Linked DNA regions of Homo sapiens: region 2 is linked to region 1. The links are contacts of gene promoters, found by promoter capture Hi-C in human tissues and cell types (Jung and others, 2019). All regions are on one chromosome and are shown on one strand. Each heading gives the region's core, a stretch centred on a gene start or on the middle of the fragment in contact. The rest is flanking DNA. Distances are from core to core; before and after follow the strand shown. Region 1 holds the start of SYT14 (synaptotagmin 14). Region 2 overlaps SYT14 (synaptotagmin 14).

Region 1 (3,078 bases), core at 239-2,738:
TCTTGGAGTTCAAGACTGTTTTAAGGGAGGCTGCCTGGGGAAAATGTCATTAAACATTTTACCCGAATCCTCTAGATGTCCATCATAAACTCTCTCATGGAGCTTTCCTAAAGTATAGGCATTTTAATGTTTCCTGAGTAAAACAGTATTTTCTTTGATCCTTCAATAACAATTCTTGCTTGTAGCCAGTTTTCAGCACAGTGCCGGCTTCACAGATACTCACTGAACTAAAGAAAATGGTAAAGGATGAATGTCTATTGAGCATAAAATGCGACTGAGGGAGAGGTTATATAAAAGCAATGGAAGACAGTTTCTGCTCTAGATTTACAGTCCAACCTTACTTACATAAGTGTAAAATATTTTCTTCTTTGTTTCAGTCCCTAATATAGCTATTTTGCTCTAGGAATTAGCATTTCCTCCACAAGAGAGAATCACTAAACTCCCTATTTCTCAATGTTGTTTATGCCGTTGATTGTCCAGGTTCTCAAATTACTAAATGAAGTTGAGAGTTGGGTAAATGGTTGAGCGGTTCAAGTATCTTAAGTAAAAACTAAGTGGCCAATTGTTGTTGTGCTCAGGGTTGGCCTGGGACTGTTCACAATGGTCACAGGTTTACAAATTTTTAAAAACCTGCGTGTGACATGCTTTCCAGGTCCTTTGTCAAAACGTCCGTCTGACCCTGACTTTTGTGTGGCTTCAAATGTGCGTTTGCAATGTGTAGACAAATTCCAACTCAGAGTTCCAAGAGGTAAGCCAAGCTCTGTGTGGCAGCAAGGCTTATCAAGAGCGAGGCTAAGGGGTGAAGTGAGTGTGTGTGTGTGTGTGTGTGTGAGAGAGAGAGAGAGAGAGAGAGAGAGAGACCACTGCTGTGCTCAGGATTCCTCTCTCCTTTTTGCTTTTTGCCAACTAGCTGTTTCTCCACAGCGGAGATCTGAGACGAGTATGTGGCTGATTCGGGCAAAACAAAACAAAATAAAACCAAACGAAACCAAAACAGACTTACTATTACCAAATCTGAGAGTCAGTGGGTGGGAATCCTTTTCAACCAAGGAGACCTGTCCATGGTCCTGACCACATCATTTGCCACTCGCCTCCTTCATGGACACCGTTTGCTCCAAGTACCGGACGGGAGGGCGCCCGGCGCCAGGAAGCTTGGGCTTGGGCCCCCACACGAGCTCGGCGCGCTTCGGGCGGGTCTCGGGCGCGGGCCCGTGGCTCTCCGGGCCGGGCACCTGTTTCGAATCGAGGCGCGAGGCGCGGTGGGGCGGTGGGGTGGGGTGGGGTAGGTTGGGGTGGGGGCGGGGTGGCGTCACGTGCCAGCGGCGGCCCCGGGAAGGTTCCATTTCTTCCGCGGCCCGCACTCGCGGCGCTCGGGGCCCCTCCCTCGCCCCGCCCGCGGCGCCCCTCGCGGCCGCACAGCCGGGCGACTCCGGGCCGGGCCCCGCCCCTCTCGCTGGCGGACTCAGCGCGTCCTCCGCCAGCCCTCGCGTCTGCTGCCCCCGCCATCCAGTTGGTGCGGTCCATGGCGAGCGCATCATGGCGATTGAAGGTAAGTGGAGGCTGACAGCGGGGAGCGAGGACCGGGACCACCCAGCTGGCGGGGGGCTCGGAGGTGCGCCGGCAGGCCGAGGCGCTGACGGGGCCGCCTCCTGTGGTCTGGAGCCGGCTGAAGACGCGCGGGGGTCCTGGCCGCGTCTCGGGAGGCGGGTGGGCGGAGCGGCGCCGCTGGGACGCCGGGCCCGACTGGCTCGCTCGCCCCGGCCTTCGTGGTTTTGCCGGCCTCCCGGCGGCCGCACGCGGGGCAAAGCGGGCTGGCGGGCAGGTACAGCGTCCGGGCCGCCGCCTCCTGCCGGCCGCGCGGAGTGGAGGTCGGGGTGAGGCCCTGCAGACCCCACGGGACGGGCTGGGAGGAGCGAGGGGCCACGGGGGGCTCAGGCTGCCCTTTCTTTTCTTTCCCCGGCCGCGGCAAACCATCCTTCCGCAATACCCACCTTCCTGCCAAACTGAGAGTCCAGTTTTTTGTCCCATTCCTAACCCTTCCCTGTGCCCGCTCGGGCTGATGCTGGGTTACACTCTCTGCCCGTTCCCCTTCTGTTTGCTGTTGTAGGGGGTCCAGGAAATTTGGGGTTAGGTTAATTTCCTCCTCAAGTGGTTTTGTTCCCCGCCAACACTCAAAACTGTTTTTCTCCATGAAAAGAAGTAAATAACGTCTTTACAACAAGCACACATTCTTAGAATCCTGCAAATACCAGTCTATGAAGTGTTATAGTGCCACAATGCTCATATTTCGAAAAACAGCTTAATAAAAATTAAGTTCCTAGATAAGGTAGTTGACACTAAAGTGTATTTTTCTCTTGTTCCAGAAACATGTAACTGGGACCAAGTGTCTATATTTTGCCTTGTTTTTAAGGAAGAGATTGTGAGAATTAATTTCACACGTCTAGGATATTTATGTGAAAGATTACATCTTCCAGGCCCTGTCTCTTAGATTAACTCAAACAGTGAAAGTAATTTGTAAATTTTCCCTGTGTGTGTATATTCATCTGTGCAGCTGTGCAAGGTACCTATAGCTATATCATTATTTCTCTACATTGAAAGTGTGTTCCTAAGTAAAACTTTTTAAAGCGTTTCCCTTCTAAGTGATCAATCACTGGTAGTATGCATCTCTGGGGACTTCTTTTTGTCGGATCATGTGGACTCCAAAGTAGAGTTAGCTGTGTGTTTACATGTAGCTTATTTATTTAAGAGAGGGAGTACCTATTGTATGCAAGACACATTCAGACAGTTTCAAATGTCTGCTTGAGTTAAAATGGTGGGGAATAAGATCTACCTATAATCTATGATGTTCCTGTTATCTGCAGCAGTACTTTCAACATTTGTTTCCCTCACTGTCCTTTTACCAAAGGTTAAAAATCAAGAAACCAAACCCACTGATTTATGTTGTGTACTTTATTTTCCCAACTAGTTTGTGGTAGAGTTTCTTGTGAAGCCGTGAAACTCTACCACACTACCACACTACCACACCACGTGAAAGTAGAAAGGTTTAGGCAGAGCATGAGGAAAATCCTTCAGGCAGAT
Region 2 (3,078 bases), core at 373-2,872, 200 kb after region 1:
TATTGTATAGCAAATAGGTTTATTTCATTTGATAGCAGAGGACACCAGTAAATGCTTAAATCTGATTGAGTAGCTGGAGTTAGTCAATAGTGGTGCCAGTAATGGTGAATCTGATAGTGGTGTCCAGTGTATTAGTATTTTCTCTTGCCTCCCATATTTTATTAATATATTCACTTATCCATTCTAAGTGAACTGACAGAAAGATCAAAACCTCTGTACTTTCTGAAGTATTATTCCTTTTGCTTCTTGTGCAAGGTGGAGGTGAATAAAAATTTGTAAGAATCCTAGAGCTGAGTACTAATTTTGATGTTTTTTTGGCAACTGTCTGGTTGTTTATTTTTGAGAACCTAGCCCAAAAGATGTCTTAGTCACAGCTGATTATCTTATTTACTCTTTTTTTTTTTTTTTTGGAGAGCTTATTCAAGTGTAAAGTGTGGGGATGGACCACTCAGAAACACCAACTCCATAGGAATGGAGTTGGCATTCCAAAGTAGGGAAGCTAAAGTTTCATTTGTATAGGCAGAGACAGAGGAGCTTTTGGCAGGATTACAACATTATTCATGTAAGGGTTGGCACATAGTTACAATTTGATTGGTTAGGTTTTGTTGTTGTTGATTTTTATTTATTTATTTATTTATTTTTGAGATGCAGTCTCATTCTGTCACCCAGGCTGGAGACAAGGTCTTGCTCTGTCACCCAGGCTGGAAGGCAGTGGTGCAATCGTGGCTCACTGCAGCCTCAACCTCCCAGGCTCAAGCGATCCTCCCACCTCAGCCTCCTGAGTAGCTGAGACCACAGGTGCATGCCACCACACCTGGCTAATTTTTAAAATTTTTTTTGTAGAGACAGGAGTCTCACTATGTTGCCAGGGCTCATCTTGAACTCCTGGGCTCAAGCAATCCACCCGCTTCAGCCTCCCAAAGTGCTGGGATTACAGGTGTGAGCCACCACACCCTGTTTTGATTATCTTGCTCTTAACTATGCATTACTCTTATTTATTTGAACATCTGTATCTAAGTTTTACAGTTTTAAGCTTAGCATCATCATTAGTATTAATGAAATAGAGCCCTGAGTTTCTTGCCTTAGTTGAACACATACTTAAATCATTTGTAAAACACTTCAACTGTTTACAGAGTGTTTTCACATACAGTATACCTTTAAAGCTTCATACTTTTGTCCTTAAACTCACCATATACAATAATGAACTCCTTTCTGCCCCTACCCCTAAACATGCTTTTCCTCCTCCTCCATTTCCTAAATCATTTTACAGTACCACTGTAAAACTGTTGATAAAGCTAGGAGCCATAACCTCATCATACAAATCTCATCCTGTCGATCTGGGTTCATTGAGTTTCTCAAAGGTTTGGATTTGTAGTTTTAATTAAAGGGAACCTTTTGCCAGTACTTCTTCAAATATTAATTCTGGCCACATAACCCCTTTCTGAAACTCTGATACATATATATGAGACCCTTTGAAGTTGTCCCAACTCACCGATGCTGTGTTCTTAATTTTTGTGTTCTTAATTTTTTTCCCTGTCTTTTTTTTTTTCAAAAACAGAGTCTCACTCTGTCACCCAGGCTGGAATACAGTGGCACAATCTCAGCTCATTGCAACCTCCACCTCCCGGGTTGAAGTGATTCTTCTACCTCAGCCTCCCGAGTACCTAGGATTACAAGCATGCACCACCACACCTGGCTAATTTTTTGTATTTTTAGTAGAGACAGGGTTTTGCCATGTTGGCCAGTTTGGTCTCAAATTCCTGGCCTCAAGTGATCCACTGGCCTCACCCTCCCAAGATGCTGGGATTACAGGCATGAGCCACCGCACCTGGCTTCCCTGTCTTTTTTTTCCTCTGTGGTTTGATTTTAGACCTTCTATTGCTGTATCTTTGGGTTCATTGATCTTGTCCTGTGCAATGTCTATGTTGGTAATCCAGTCCAGTGTATTTCTCATCTCAGATAGATTTTTCAGCCTCTATAAGTTAAATTTTGGTCTATTTTATATAGTCTGTGTCTCTTCTTAACAAGCCCATGTTTTCTTCTATTGTCTTGAACCATGGGACATATTTATAATCGCTGTTTTAAGGTCCATGTCTACAAATTCTATCATCTGTTTAGTTTCTGGATCAGTTTTTATCAATTGACTTTTTTTCCTTAATATGGGTTTTATTTTCCTTCTTCTTTTCATGCTTGATAATTTTTAATGGATCCCAGATATTGTGGATTATACATTGTTGGGTGCTAAATTATTTTGTTTTCTCTTACTTTTGAGCTTTGTTCTTGGATGCAATCAGGCAACTTGAAAACATTTTGATCCTTTTGAGGCTTGCTTTTAAGTTTTGCTATAGAAAACTAGACATTGTTTATTCTAGGGCTAATTTGACCCCACTACTCAGGCAATTTCCTTCTAAGTACTCAACTCAGTGCCCCATATATTATGTTTTCTACACTTTGTTCAGAATGTGAATTATTCTCAGGCCTATGTGAGTTGTGGGGATTGTTCTGCTTGATTCCTTCCAGCACTTCTTTCCTTGGCCATAGGTAGTTTGGGATTCAAAATGAATTTTTAAACTATGAGTGAGACTTAAGCATATTTAAATATGGCTGAGACAAATTCACTGAAGCCTGATATTTAGGATGTGAGACAAGAAGCCTGTAGAAAATAGGATCCAGACAGCAGGTGGAGAAATTGGTCTGAAATACAAGGGATGCCTCCTCTTACAATGGTAAGAAAGAAGGAGAGAATCCAGATGTCAGAAAGTTTGTAGATATTTTCACAGGAAGTTGAGGAAGTTTCCACATATTGAGAGGTGTGTGTGTATGCGTGCATGTGTATGTGAGAGAGAGAGAAGCAGGAGGCAGGAATGAGTAAGGAGAAAGGGAACGGGGTCAGTGATTTTAGGAGAATGGAACTGGGTCAGCTGATTTTAGAAAATGGAAGATTTATAATAATTGGGGAAATGGAAAAATAAATTTACCCGAGAAGTATAACTAGATTGTAAGTATAGCCAGATGATGGCCAAAGTTCCAATTCATCCCATTGTGTGATGCTTTTCCTAGTACAATCAAGGAGTTAAT

Evidence for each region. The method cuts DNA at HindIII sites, captures the fragments that hold promoters and counts their contacts. A contact is called where the count stands out against the background at its distance.
Region 2: a contact is called between a fragment that was not itself captured here and the fragment with the promoter of SYT14 in region 1, in 1 of the 25 tissues and cell types used here (thymus).

Annotation. Positions count from the first base shown.
Region 1 is chr1:209,936,729-209,939,806 of GRCh38, forward strand. SYT14 (synaptotagmin 14) reads left to right here and starts at 1,489. Exons shown (of 9, transcript NM_001146262.4): 1 at 1,489-1,549. The coding sequence starts at 1,537. RefSeq lists a silencer at 936-1,230. The HindIII fragment of the contact is 7,833 bases long and covers 4-3,078 here.
Region 2 is chr1:210,133,448-210,136,525 of GRCh38, forward strand. The region is part of intron 6 of SYT14 (synaptotagmin 14); the gene reads left to right. Among named protein-coding and RNA genes, the nearest start is that of SERTAD4, 98 kb to the right of the region's middle. The HindIII fragment of the contact is 5,371 bases long and covers 1-3,078 here.